Regions from separate parts of the Homo sapiens genome. Here all the other regions are linked to region 3. The links are contacts of gene promoters, found by promoter capture Hi-C in human tissues and cell types (Jung and others, 2019). All regions are on one chromosome and are shown on one strand. The core of a region is centred on a gene start or on the middle of the fragment in contact, and the rest is flanking DNA. Distances in the headings are between cores, read along the strand shown.

What was found. Contacts are between HindIII fragments. The study calls those that stand out against the background at their distance.
Region 1: a contact is called between the fragment with the promoter of STAP2 here and the fragment with the promoter of GIPC3 in region 3, in 1 of the 25 tissues and cell types used here (H1 embryonic stem cells).
Region 2: a fragment that was not itself captured here is called in contact with the fragment with the promoter of GIPC3 in region 3 in 1 of the 25 tissues and cell types used here (dorsolateral prefrontal cortex).

Annotation. Positions count from the first base shown.
Region 1 is chr19:4,337,006-4,341,957 of GRCh38, forward strand. STAP2 (signal transducing adaptor family member 2) reads right to left here and starts at 1,822. Exons shown (of 13, transcript NM_001013841.2): 1 at 1,647-1,822. The coding sequence starts at 1,748. The HindIII fragment of the contact is 19,957 bases long and covers 1-4,952 here.
Region 2 is chr19:4,413,747-4,418,288 of GRCh38, forward strand. It overlaps CHAF1A (chromatin assembly factor 1 subunit A), which reads left to right. Exons shown (of 15, transcript NM_005483.3): 4 at 4,274-4,330. Among named protein-coding and RNA genes, the nearest start is that of CHAF1A, 13 kb to the left of the region's middle. RefSeq lists an enhancer at 1-58. The HindIII fragment of the contact is 3,051 bases long and covers 930-3,980 here.
Region 3 is chr19:3,582,530-3,586,840 of GRCh38, forward strand. It overlaps GIPC3 (GIPC PDZ domain containing family member 3), which reads left to right and starts at 2,949. Exons shown (of 6, transcript NM_133261.3): 1 at 2,949-3,293; 2 at 3,966-4,151; 3 at 4,285-4,311. The coding sequence starts at 3,069. The HindIII fragment of the contact is 10,668 bases long and covers 1-4,311 here.

The DNA of each region.
Region 1 (4,952 bases), core at 572-3,071, 750 kb after region 3:
GTATGGAGGTAGAAGGAAAGTCTACTCCACTACAGGTAAGGGAACCTCAGGGGCAGAGGCGGGGACATGGGCAGGGAGGAGCTGGGGGTGTTTGTTTTGATCTGTATTAGAAAATGAGGCAGTCATGGTGGCTCACACCTCTAATCCCAGCAGTTTGGGAGGCTGAGACAGGAGGATCACTTAAGGCCAGGAGTTTGAGACCAGCCTGGGCAACATAGCAAGACCCCATCTTTTTTTTTTTTTTGAGACGGAGTCTTGCTCTGTTGCCCAGGCTGGAGTGCAGTGGCACGATCTTGGCTCACTGCAACCTCTGCCTCCCAGGTTCAAGTGATTCTCCTGCCTCAGCCTCCAGAGTAGCTGGGATCACAGGCACGCACCACCACGCCCGGCTAATCTTTGTATTTTTAGTAGAGACGGGGTTTCACCATATTGGCCAGGCTGGTCTCAAACTCCTGACTTCAGGTGATCCACCTGCCTCAGCCTCCCTAAGTGCTGGGATTACAGGTGTGACCCACTGCGCCTGGCCAGCAAGACCCCATCTTCAAAAAAAAAAAAAAAAGGCTGGGTGCGGTGGCTCATGCCTGTAATCCCAGCATTTAGAGAGGCCGAGACAGGTGGATCACCTGAGGTCAAGAGTTCAAGACCAGCCGGGCCAACAAAATGAAACACTGTCTTTACTAAAAATACAAAAATTAGGTGTGGTGGTGCGTACCTGTAATCCCAGCTACTCGGGAGGCTGAGGCACGAGAATCGCTTAATCGTTTGAACCTGGGAGGTGGAGGTTGCAGTGAGCCGAGATGGTGCCACTGCACTGCAGCCTGGGTGACAGAGTGAGACTCAGTCTCAAAAATAAATAAATAAAATAAAAGCCAGAAGAGGCAGTGCATGCCTGTGGTCCCAGCTACTCAGGAGGCTGGGGCGGGAGGTTCACTTGAGCCCAGGAGTTTGAGGCTACAGTGAGCCATGATCGTGCCCCTGCACTCTAGCCTGGGTGACAGAGCAACTCTGTCTCTAACAAAAAGAAAGAAAGAAAATGAATATGCGGCATTGGGAAGGAGAGATAGGGCCTCACGGGGAACGGAGGGGCTGGGACTTTATTCTGAGGGAGACATAAGCACACACACACACACACATGCACGCACTGTCCATGGCAACTATCTGTCCTGTGGAATGTGGCCCCCGCTAGCTCTTACTGTCCTCACATGTCACCTGTCCTGGCCTTCGCCCCAGCAGCTGAGGTTCACGGAGTTTTTCCTGGGCTGGGAGCGGGAGGAAGCTCGGGAGTCAGAGGACTCCCCATTTCCTGGAGGAAGTCCCTGATCTTGTTTGTATTCAAGAGAGTGAACGAGAGACAAAAGCAAAGATTGAGACAAAGAGAGAGGGAGACTGAGACAGACATCGGGAGAGACAGACGGGGCCAGGGAGAGAGAAAGAGAAAAAGAAACCAAATTCAAAGACACACGGAGACAGAGATAGACGCACAGAGAGGCAGATGGCCAGAACCCACCCCAGTCCCCCAGCACGTGTCCTGCCCCATCCAGCACCCACCCCGCCCCCCCTTGGCGAGTGGGGAGACAGGGACTCAGAGAGGTGCCGCAGCTCCCCACGGTGGCCCAGCAGGGCCAGCCCCCGCCTCCCCACCTTACCCGGTCACAGGGCCCCTTCTTCTCTAGAAAGCTCTCATAGTAGTGTGAAGGCAGGACACCCTTAGGCTTGGGGACACGGGGTGGCCTCAGGGCAGAGGCCATGACGGAGCCAGGGTCTTCCGCCTGGCCTCTCCTTCCAGTGGGTGCCCCAGCTGGGCCGGGAAGCTGAGAAACAGGTTTCAGGGGAGTTTCCTGTGTCAGCCCGTCAACTCCCTCCCCTGCCAGGGCTGGGCAGAGGCTGATCCCAGCAGGTCCAGTGATCCTAGGGAAATCCCCGCCTCTCCGGTGTGGAACTGAGAACAGAGAGAATGTATAAGTCTACTTGAATGGGAGAATAATCTTCGCTATATCTGCAAAGACAGAGACATGGTCTGTCTCTTTATTTATTTATTTATCTATTTTTCCTATTTTGAGACAGAGTTTCACTCTGTTGCCCAGGCTGGAGTAAAGTGGTATGATCTTGGCTCACTGCGACCTCTGCCTCCCGGGTTCAAGAGACTGCGCTGCCTCCCGGGTTCAGAGACTGAGTCCAAGCTCAGTCTCCTGACTAGCGTGGATTGCAGGTGACCGCCACCACGCCTGGCTAATTTTTGTATTTGTAGTAGAGACGAGGTTTCCCCATGTTGGCCCAGGCTGGTCTCGAACTCCTGACCCCAAGTTTTCTGCCCGCCTCAGCCTCCCAAAGTGCTGAGATTACAGGCATGAGCCACCACACCTGGCCCTTTCTCTTACTTTGATGGACCCTAATGATTACATTGGGCCCACCTGGATAATCCACGCTACTCTCCCTATTTTAAAGTCAGCTGACTAGCAACTTTAATTTCATCTGCAATTTTTCTTTTTTAGACGGTGTCTCATTCTGTTGTCGATGCTGGAGTGCAGTGGCACGATCATAGTTCACTGCAGCCCTGACCTCCCAATCTCAAGCGGTCCTCCTGCCTCAGCCACCCGAAGAGCTGGGACTATAGGTGGGCACCACCACACCCAGCTAATTTATTTTCCTTTTTTAAGGATGAGTTCTCACTATGTTGCCTAGGCTGGAGTACAGTGGGGCGATCATGACTCACTGTAGCCTCGACCTTACAGGCTCAAGTGATCCTCCAGCCTCAGCCTCCAGAGTAGGTGGTACTACAGTTGCATGCCACCACACCTGGCTAATTTTTTTTTTTCTTTTTTTTGAGACAGACTCTCGCTCTGTAGCCCAGGCTGGAGTGCAGTGGCGTGATCTCGGCTCACTGCAAGCTCCGCCTCCCAGGTTCATGCCATTCGCCTGGCTCAGCCTCCCAAGTAGCTGGGATTACAGGTGCCTGCCACCACGCCCAGCTAATTTTTACACTTACTAGAGACAGGTTCTTGCTATGTTGCCCAGGCTGGTCTTTTTTTTTTTTTTTTTTTGAGACAGAGTCTTACTCTGTCACCCAGGCTGGAGTGCAGTGGAGCGATCTCGGCTTACTGCAACCTCTGCCTCCCAGGTTCAAGCAATTCTCCTGCCTCAGCCTCCCGAGTAGCTGGGATTATAGGCACGTGCCACCATGCCCAGCTAATTTGTTTGTATTTTTATTTTAGTAGAGATGGAGTTTCACTGTGTTAGCCAGGATGGTCTTAATCTCCTGACCTTGTGATCCACCTGCCTCGACCTCCCAAAGTGCTGGGATTACAGGCATAAGCCACCGTGCCCGGCCCTCAGGCTAGTCTTGAACTCCTGGGTGCAAGTGATCCTCCAGTCTAGGCCTCCCAAAGTGCTGGGGTTACAGGTGTGTGCCACTGTGCCTGGCGTCTATCTTTAATCTTCAAATCCCTTTGCCACGTATCCTAACGTATTCACAGATTCTGGGAATTAGGGCGTGGATATCTTTAAGAGACCATTATTCTGCCTACCACAGCCTGTTTAATATGGTGGACAATTGATTAATTTTGAATACTGAATCAGTCTTGGGTCCCTGGAGTAAACCCCACTTGTCATGGTGTATAATTCACTTTATATATTGTTAAATTCTACTTTGTAATATTTTGTTAAGGATTTTTGCACGTCTTCATGAGGGATATGGGGTGTAGCTTGCTTTCTTTGTACCGTCTTTATCTGGTTTTGGTATCAGGGTCATAGTTCCATAAAATGAACAGGGAAGTGTCCCCTTCAATTTTCTGGAAGAGATGATGTGAAATTGGTGTTAATTCTTCTTTGAACCTTTGGCAGAATTCCTTAGTGAAACCATCTGGGTCTGGAGATTGCTTTTTTGGGAGTTTTTAAATTACAAATTCAATTTCCTTAGTAGTTACCAGGGCTAGACTTTGTATACATAGCAGAACAGGTGTTCTAGAAATCACAGAAAGGCCGTGGGACTGTGGCAATGTGTTCATCCACTGAACTGTCTGATAAAGTTGATAGTATCAGCTATACTAAGTAAGGTCAGAGAGTTGATTTTTGTTTCGTTTTTTTGTTTGTTTGTTTTTTCAGACAGGGTTTTGCTCCTTTTGCCCAGGCTGGAGTGCAGTGGCATGATTTCGGCTCACTGCAACCTCCGCCTCCCGGGTTCAAGCGATTTTCCTGCCTCAGCCTCTGGAGTAGCTGGGATTACAGGTGCCTGCCACCACCCCCGGCTAATTTTTTTGTTTTTATTAGAGATGGGGTTTCACCATGTTGGTCAGGCTGGTCTTCAGCTTCTGACCTCAAGTGATCCCAAAGTGCTGGGATTACAGGCGTGAGCCACTGTGCCCAGCCAGGGTGGTTAGTTTTTATTGTATTTGTCTAAGGCAATGTGGAGCGACAGAAGGATTTACAGCATGAGAGGAGGGCAGGGTGCGGTGGCTCACGCCTGTAATCCAAACACTTTGGGAGCCCAAGTGGGAAGATTGCTTAAGGCCAGGACTTGGAGACCAGCATGGGCAACATAGTGAGATCCCCTTCTTTTACAAGAAAATTAAAAATTAGCCAGGCATGCTGGTCACGCCTGTTGTCTCAGCTACTCTGGAGGCTGAGGCAAGAGGATCATTTGAGTCCAGGAGGCCAAGGCTGCAGTGAGCCATGATTACACCAATGCACTCCAGCCTGGGAGATAGAGCAAGGCCCTGTCTCGAAAAGAAAAGAAAATAGGCTGGGCGCAGTGGCTCACACCTGTAATCCCAGCACTTTGGGAGGCTGAGGCAGGTGGATCACCTGAGGTTGGGAGTTCGAGACCAGCCTGGCAAACATGGTGAAACCCCTTCTCTACTAAAAATACAAAAATTAGCTGGGTGTGGTGATGTGCATCTGCAGTCCCAGCTAATTGGGAGGCTGAGGCAGGAGAATCGCTTGAACCTGGTAGGCAG
Region 2 (4,542 bases), core at 1,205-3,704, 830 kb after region 3:
GTGTTTTTGTTTGTTTTGGTTTTTGTTGTTGTTTTAGTACTGCAGGATCTGGAGAATCTCACTTTGGAGAAACAATGATTTAAAAAGATCCCCCTTTAGATACTCCCAGGGTCCTTTGAATAGCTGAAGTGTTCCTTTTTAGTATTAGAGTTTTCTACCATGTGGGAAAGAACCATTTCTGAAGTTTGCAATCAGACTTGTGATTTAGCCTCTTCTGTTAGTGATCGAGATGATTATTTGACAAATGATCATGTTGGTGCAGTTGTGTTACTGGAATCTTTGGCTTGCTTCTGTGCCCAGATTGCTGGAACTTCTTTCCATATACTTGAAATTACATTTGTAATAAATTCTCCATGTTTAAAAGAAATACTGGTCTAGGTGCAGTGGCTCAAGCCTGTAACCCCAGCACTTTGGGAAGCCGAGGTGGGAGGATTGCTTGAGCTTAGGAGTTCGAAACCAGCTTGACCAACATGGTGAAACTCCGTCTGTACAAAAAATACAAAAAATAGCGGGGCATGGGGGTGCACACCTGTAGTCCCAGCTCCTTGGGAGGCTGAGGTGGAAGGATCACTTGAGCCAAGGAGGCAGAGGTTGCGGTGAGTCATGATTGCACCACTGTGCTCCAGCCTGGGCAACAGCCAGACCGTCTCAAAAAAAAAAAAAAACAAAAAGGAAAAAGAATGGAAACCTTGAAGCCCTCTGTTCTCCCAGGAGGTTGCCATTATTATCATCATCATCACCTTGTGTTTTTCTGTGTCCTGTATATCCAGAGAGATCTCTAGGAAACACCCAGTATCATTTTGTTTCCTTGTGTATGACATATACTGTAAATATCTGTCTTTGTTACTCAAGGGTGTCTTAGATGTTTTTTATATTGGGATGGAAAGATGGAGCTCTTTTTAACAGCTGCGTGATATCCCATGGTGTGGACATGCTGTAGGTTACAGAGCTGTTTTCTCAGTTCTGCTGTTTCTGTGCTTGGCTTTCACAAAATGATTGTTCCCTTGAGCTTCCTTCTACAAGTGGCCTTGGGCTGTTAAGGAGAATGAGGTCTTGGTAGCTCAAGGCAATGCGTGCGTTCTTATTTTCCCAGCTTGCACTCTCTCATGCTTGGGCCAATTGGAGGTTTTCTCTTTTCCCCCCTGCCTCCGCTCCCCTGCTGTCAGGTTTTAGCGGCTTATCTGGTCTGGGCTTAGAAATTAGATACCCTTTAGTATAAAATCAGAGTCCATAGGCTCTGAGAGGATTATCTGAGAAAGGGTGCAGGAATTTTCATGCCCACACATAGTGAGCTCTGTCGCGACTCCTTGGGATTGTCGGTTTTTGTGTTTTGGCTTCCTTCTGGGATCCTGGATCACGTTTTTGGCAGTTGAGGGTGCTGTCTGACCGGGCTCCAGCTGGGTAGAATGTGGGAGTGTTGCATAGAATTTTGAGAGTGAGATCTATAAACACTTGGGTCAAATTTCAAGAAGATAAAGTTCTGTCAGACTTCAAGGTCCATCTGAGGGTTTGGCAAAGCAAAAAAGATACCAGTTTTAAATTAAGCAGTAATTGCTCTGTTTTGGTTGTTGGATATTACTGAGCGGGCTCTTGCCAGTCACATCAAGTCTGTTATCTCTGGACTCACAGCAGAGGGGGGGCATTGTAAGAGGCAGGAGATTCTGCAGCTGAGCTTCAGGCATGGGCAAGACTAAGGAACTGAATTCCCCGCCACCCCAAGACCACATTCCGTATTATAATCTCTGAACACAAAGGGCAGCCCCGGAGAGCTGCGGCTCCCATATTCTGCAGTTAAATCCCTCAGCGTGGGGGAGAGGCACACAGCCTTGGCAGGCAGAGTAGATGCTGGAGAGACAGATGCTTTTTCTGCAGCATTTGGTGAGGCTGCCTCGGGCTGGCATTTCTGTTGCCACATTCTCAGCAAAGACTGAACACCCTGGCCTGATCTCGGTGGTGAAAGAGCTCCTGCCAACACGGGCAGCCTTCTCACAACGGCTCGGCCTTTCCCTAAAGAAAGGTTTAGTCCAGAAAGGACTCAGTGGGACCCAGGTGGAAAGGCTGTCTTGAGCTCATTCATCTGAAGCTTTTATTCTGTGAGAGGTCCTAGTCAGGGGTTCAGCTTTCCCAGATAAAGAAATCACTGTTGGCCGGGCGCGGTGGCTCACGCCTTTAATCCCAGCACTTTGGGAGGCCGAGGCGGGCGGATCACGAGGTCAGGAGATCGAGACCATCCTGGCTAACATGGTGAAACCCCATCTCTACTAAAAATACAAAAAAATTACCCAGGCATGGTGGTGGGCACCTATAGTCCCAGCTACTGGGCAGACTGAGGCAGGAGAATCGCTTGAACCCGGGAGGCGGAGCTTGCAGTGATCCGAGATGGCGCCACTGCACTCCAGCCTGGGCGACAGAGCGAGACTCCGTCTCAAAAAAAAAAAGAAATCACTTACATAATTTTGTTGACCCCTCAGACCATTGCCAGGAAAATGGGCCTTTGGTTTTTCAGTCAACTTCAGTCTTACACTGCAAGTCTGCAATGAACCCGGAGAACTATTTCTTCCCACTCTTAAGCGTCTCTTCCCATTGCTCTTCACTTCTACTAGTTTGGTTTTCAGGATTCCCTGCCCCGGTGGGAGATAGCTTAGGCCAAAGTCCAGACTCCCTGTTCGTCTTCCTTCCTGGGACCATTTAGGTGGATGGTGAGTCACACCATGGATCCTATTGGTAATTCCTAGTAGCTCATGCTCAGTTTGAAGGTAGGTGATAGAAAATATTGTGCCCTAGAAGGTAGAAGTCCTAGAAAACCCCAGCAAGTTTCCCTTTTGTCTTAAGCTTTCACTCCACATTCTAAAAAGCAGAGTTGGCTGGGCGCGGTGGCTCACGCCTGAATTCCTAGCACTTTGGGAGGCGAGGCGGGTGGATCACCTGAGGTCAGGAGTTCGAGACCAGCCTGGCCAACATGATGAAACCCCTATCTCCACTAAAAATACAAAAATTAGCCAGGTGTGGTGGCACACGCCTATAATCCCAGCTACTCAAGAAGCTGAGGCAGGAGAATCGCTTGAACTTGGGAGGTAGAGGTTGCAGTGAGCCGAGATCGTGGCACTCGCTGCACTCCAGCCTCTGTGACAGGAGTAAGACTCCATCTCAAAAATAACATTAAAATAAAAAGCAGAGTTGAGCTAGACAGAATGTAAATTAGTGGTGCACAGGAAACCAGCCTGGAGACATGTTTTATTTGATTAATTTAGTATCTTTTTATTTTTTTTTTAGACAGTCTCACTCTGTCACCCAGGTTGGACAGCTCAGTGCAGCCTCAACCTCCCGGGCTCCTCCCACCCCAGACTCCTGGGTAGCTAGGACTACAGATGTGCACCACAACACCCGACTAACTAAAAGCTTTTTTTAGAGACAGGGTCTTGCTTTATTGCCCAGGCTGGTCTTGAACTCCTGGGCTCAAGTGATCCTCCCGCCTTGACCTCCCAAAGTGCTGGGATTACAGGCATGAGCCACTGTGCCCGTCTGTGTCCATTTTTAAACACCTAAAAAAATTCATATGAAATTCCTAATATCAGCTTCTCTTGGAGAAATTGGAAGGACCAGCAAATAGGGATCTATATTCCTGTAAGAACTCCATCTCCTTTGGACAGGCAGGTCCTCTCTCCTTTGCTACAAATCCATCCTCTCCCTGTCGCCCAGGCCAGCTGTCGCTTTTTTTTTTTTTTTTTTTTTAAGACAGAGTCTCACCCTGTTGCCCAGGCAGGAGTATGGTGGCGCAATCTCGGCTCACTGCAACCTCCTTCTCCTGGGTTCAAGCGATTCTTCTGCCTCAGCCTCCTGAGTAGGTGGGATTACAGGCACCTGCCACCACGCTCGGCTAATTTTTGTATTTTTAGTAGAGATGGGGTTTTGCCACGTTGGCCAGGCTGGTCTCGAACTCCTGACCTCAGGTGATCTGTCTGCCTCGGCCTCCCAAAGTGCTGGAATTACAGGCGTTAGCCACCGCGCCCAGCCTTGTCTGTTGCCTTTATTTCTGAGCTTGCCTTGTTTTTCTTGTGCTTGGTGTCCTTCACTCATTTCTTTATCTGCCTCCGTAGTCTCTCTTGTTATCTAATCCCAGATACACACATGTATGCACACTTACTGGAGTTTGTGACCCTATTATGACATTTTGGTTCTGTTGGTGGAAAAACTGATCACCTGGAAAGGTTTCTCTTTTTCTCGAAGCAATTGAAATAACCCGTGTTTAAAGATAAACGTCTTCTGTTTTCAGATAACTAAGAAATTCGTCAAAGGCTCTACAGAGAAGAACAAGCTCAGACTGCAAAGAGTAAGACATTTTCCCTGAAATAGAAAATTAACCTGCTGTGCTTTTTGCATTAAATAGTAAGCAAAGCCCTTTGAAGTTCCTTTGGTCTAGTTTTTACATTTTCCCCAGCCTTCTCTGACCATCATTTTGATTCCTGCTTCATTTTAAGTACTTGGACTTCATGGTTTGTGGATTGTGTCATTTTTTGGCTTGCTGAGTGAGTCCTAAGGTTT
Region 3 (4,311 bases), core at 1,699-4,198:
TAGGTTTTGGTACATTCAAAAAGCTGTGTGGGCTGGGCACAGTGGCTCACGCCTGTAATTCCAGCAGTTTGGGAGACCGAGGCAGGCAGATCACTTGAGACCAAGAGTTCCAGACCAGCCTGGCCAACATAGTGAAACCCGGTCTCTACTAAAAATACAAAAATAGCCAGGGATGGTGGTGCATGCCTGTAATTCCAGCTACTTGGGAGACTGAGGCAGGTGAATCCCTCTCTCTCTCTCTTTTTTTTTTTTTGAGGCGGAGTCACGCTCTTGTCTGTCCCAGGCTGGAGTGCAGTGGCGCGATCTTGGCTCACTGCAACCTCCGCCTCCCGGGTTCAAGTGATTCTCCTGTCTCAGCCTTCCAAGTAGCTGGGATTACAGGCACATGACACCATACTCAGCTAATTTAATTTTTGTATTTTTAGTAGAGATGGGGTTTCATCATGTTGGCCAGGATGGTCTTGATCTCTTGACCTTGTGATCTGCCTTCCTTGGCCTCCCCAAGTGCTGGGATTACAGGGGTGAGCCACCAGACCTGGCCTTTTTTTTTTTTTTTTTTTTTTGAGACAGTCTCACTCTGTTGTCCAGGCTGGAGTGCAGTGGCATGATCTTGGCTCACTGCAACCTCCGCCTCCCAGGTTGGAGCAATTCTGCCTCAGCCTCCCGAGTAACTGGGACTACAGGTGTGCGCCACCACACCTGGCTAATTTTTGTGTTTTTAGTAGAGATGGGGTTTCACTGCGTTGTCCAGGCTGGTCTCGAACTCCTGACCTCAAGCAATCCGCCTGCCTCAGCCTCCCAAAGTGCTGGATTACAGGCATGAGCCACCGTGCCCGGCCTTACATAAAATTTCTTACCTCGTCCAAACCCTCCTGCCACTTTCTTTTCTCTCCCCATGTTCAGTTTGTGAGGCTCCTCCTGGGCGGAGGCTGTGACTGGCTCTGCTGTAGGGCCCGCCACTGCAGGCAGGATGGCTGTTTATTGAGCCGACATTCCTGGGTAGGAATCTGATGGATACGTAGGTGTTTCTGACATTGCACTCCAGCGGATTTTTACCAACGCCTCCTGGTGCCTGGGGTCTCCTCCTTCATCTGTGACCTGGACATCCGTTCATTCCTCACCAAAGATCACTGGGCACCTGCTGTATGCCAGGCACTGTGCCCTGGACACTGGGCATGGGGACAGAGCAGGGGAACAGCCCCCACCCTCCTGGAGCTGACATTCCTCCAGTCCTGGGGACAAACAGGACAAAAGATGAAATGAAATATCAGCAGGGGGCTGGGGCTCAAGCCTGTAATCCCAACATTTTGGGAGGCTGAGGCGGGAGGATTCCTTGAGGTCAGGAGTTCGAGACCATCCTGGCCAACATGGTGAAACCCCCGTCTCTACTAAAAATACAAAAAAAATTAGCTGGGCATGGTGGCAGGTGCCTGTAATCCCAACTAATCAGGAGGCTGAGGCAGAAGAATCGCTTGAACCCGGGAGGCAGAGGTTGCAGTGAGCCGAGATCGTGCCACTGCACTCCAGCCTTGGCAAGAGAGAGAGACTCCGTCTCAAAAAATAAAATAAAATAAAATATCTGATATGTCAGATGGTAGCTTTAAATGCTGAAGAGAAGCTGGGCACAGTGGCTCACATCTGTAATCCTAGCACTTTGGGAGGCCAAGGCTGAAGGATGGCCTGAACCTCCTGGTCTTGAGTTTGAGACCAGCCTGGGCAACACAGTGAGATCCCAACTGTACAAAAAATTAATCATGTTTCTAAATTAAATTTTAAAAAACTGAATGCGGCCGGGTGCGGTGGTTCACGCCTGTAATCCCAGCACTTTGGGAGGCCAAGGCAGGTGGATCACCTGAGGTCAGGGGTTCGAGACAAGCCTGACCAACATGGTGAAACCCTGTCTCTACTAAAAAATACAAAAATTAGCCAGGCATGGTGGTGTGCGCCTATAATCCCAGCTACTAGGGGGGCTGAGGCAGGAGAATCGCTTGAACCCAGGAGGTGGAGGTTGCAGTGAGCCGAGATCACGCCATTGCACTCCAGCCTGGGCGACAGAGCTAGACTCCGTCTCCAAAATCAAACAAACAAACCAAAGGCTGGGCGTGGTGGCTCATGCCTGTAATCCCAGCTTTTTTGGAGGCTAAGGTGGGTGGATTCCTGAGGTCAGGAGTTCAAGACCATCCTGGCCAACATGGTGAAACCTCATCTCTATTAAAAATACAAAAAAATTAGCCGGGCATGGTGGTATATGCCTGTAATCCCAGCTACTGGGGAGGCCGAGGCATGAGAATTGCTTGAACCTGGTGGGCAGAGGTTGCAGTGAGCTGAGATCGTGCCACTGAACTCCAAACTGGGTGACAGAGCGAGACTCCAGCTCAAAATAAATAAATAAATAAAAATAATAAAATAAAATAAAACAATGACCTCGCCTAGCAGAGGGTGAGTGCTCCAGCACCCTCAGCTGTCCCTGTCCTTTTTTTTTTTTTTTTTTTTTTTTTTGCGACGGAGTCTCGCTTTGTTGCCCAGGCTGGAGTGTAATGGCGCCATCTCAGCTCACTGCCACCTCCGCCTCCCGGGTTCAAGAGATCTCAGCCTCCCGAGTAGCTGGGATTACAGGCGCCCGCCACCACGTCCGGCTGATTTTTGTATTTTTGGTAGAGACGGGGTTTCACCATGTTGGCCAGGCTAGTCTTGAACTCCTGACCTCAGGTCATCTGCCCGCTTCGGCCTCCCAAAGTGCTGGAATTACAGACGTGAGCCACCGCTCCAGGCCTGTCCCTGTCCTTATTTGTGGTCCCTGTTCTTCCAGGGTCCTGAGCTCAGGCCCCCCCGGACTGCGGGTATCCCCGGGGAGGGCACAGCTGGCCCTGGCAGGGCCCGGACACCTGGGGCCCGACCCACCCCTGCGCACCCCGCGGTGTCGCCTTCCCGGGAGGCTCGGGTTCCCAGATCCCCTTACCCGGGCGTCTCGGCTGTCGCGCCCTGGGCCGGGGGAGGGGAGGCTGCAGGAAGCGGCGGATCCGGCGGCGGCGGCGAGGGCCCGGGTGGGTGGCCGAACTTCTCCCGCCATGGAGGGAGCAGCGGCCCGGGAGGCCCGGGGGACCGAGACCCCGCGCGCGTCTGCGCCCCCGCCCGCGCCCTCGGAGCCCCCGGCCGCGCCCCGCGCCCGCCCGCGCCTCGTCTTCCGCACGCAGCTGGCGCACGGGAGCCCCACGGGCAAGATCGAGGGCTTCACCAACGTCCGCGAGCTGTACGCCAAGATCGCCGAAGCCTTCGGGATCGCGCCCACCGAGGTAAGGAGCCCGGACACCGGCGCCCAAGACCACCCGCCTGATGGGGTGAGGGGTAGGGAGCTTGGACCCTGGACGGGAGACCCCAGATCCCCGGATCCCAGACGTCGGGGTGGCCGCCTAATCGCCGGATCTCAGAGACCCAGCCCTCAGATCCCGGGGTGCCACACTCCCAGGGGCCCCCTTTGCACGCTCTGCGCAAAAGATGGGCAGGTCTTAGGACTAGCGGACCCCTAGATATTCCAGAAAATCCTCTGCGCAGACCTAGCTTGGAGCGGACCCCAGCCCTCGGGGAAGCGCCTCTGTGCTTCCTGGGCGTAGCTGGGGTCTGGGGTTCCAGATGGCCCCCTTAGGGATGGGAAGTTTGAGGCCGCCGTGGGGTTGGGGGGTTCCTGGGCGTTTTTCCAATCCGGGTTCGTTTGGTTTGCAGCCCCCAGGGGGCGCCAGCAGATTAAACCTGGAGGTCTGGGGGCTGGAGGTCCCGGGGTATGGAGAGGGGTCTCCACCTGCTGGAAGTCTCCTTCTCCCTCCTCTCTCTGTTCTGGGGGTCCCACGCCCTGCCCTTTCCCATGGGCTGGGATCCTGGTCGCTGGGGGCAGGGGCCTGCGCAGACAGGGTGGCTGCGTGGGGGGATGCATGCCCTGGCTAACTCTAGGCTCCTTCTCCCCCGGGAAGATTTTATTCTGCACCCTCAACAGCCACAAAGTGGACATGCAGAAGCTCCTGGGGGGTCAGATAGGCCTGGAGGACTTCATCTTTGCCCACGTGCGAGGCGAGACCAAGGAGGTGGAGGTCACTAAGACAGAGGATGCTCTGGGGCTGACCATCACGGACAACGGGGCTGGCTACGCCTTCATCAAGGTGCCCGGGAGGGGGTGGGCGGGTGGCTTCCTGGGGTCCAGCAACTGCCCCCCCCACTCTGGGTCGACGTGGGTTCTGCGGATTGGAGGCGGGTGGCTGGGGTTGCCCTGCCAGCGACGCTGGATCCCTGCAGAGAATCAAGGAAGGCAGTATCATCAAC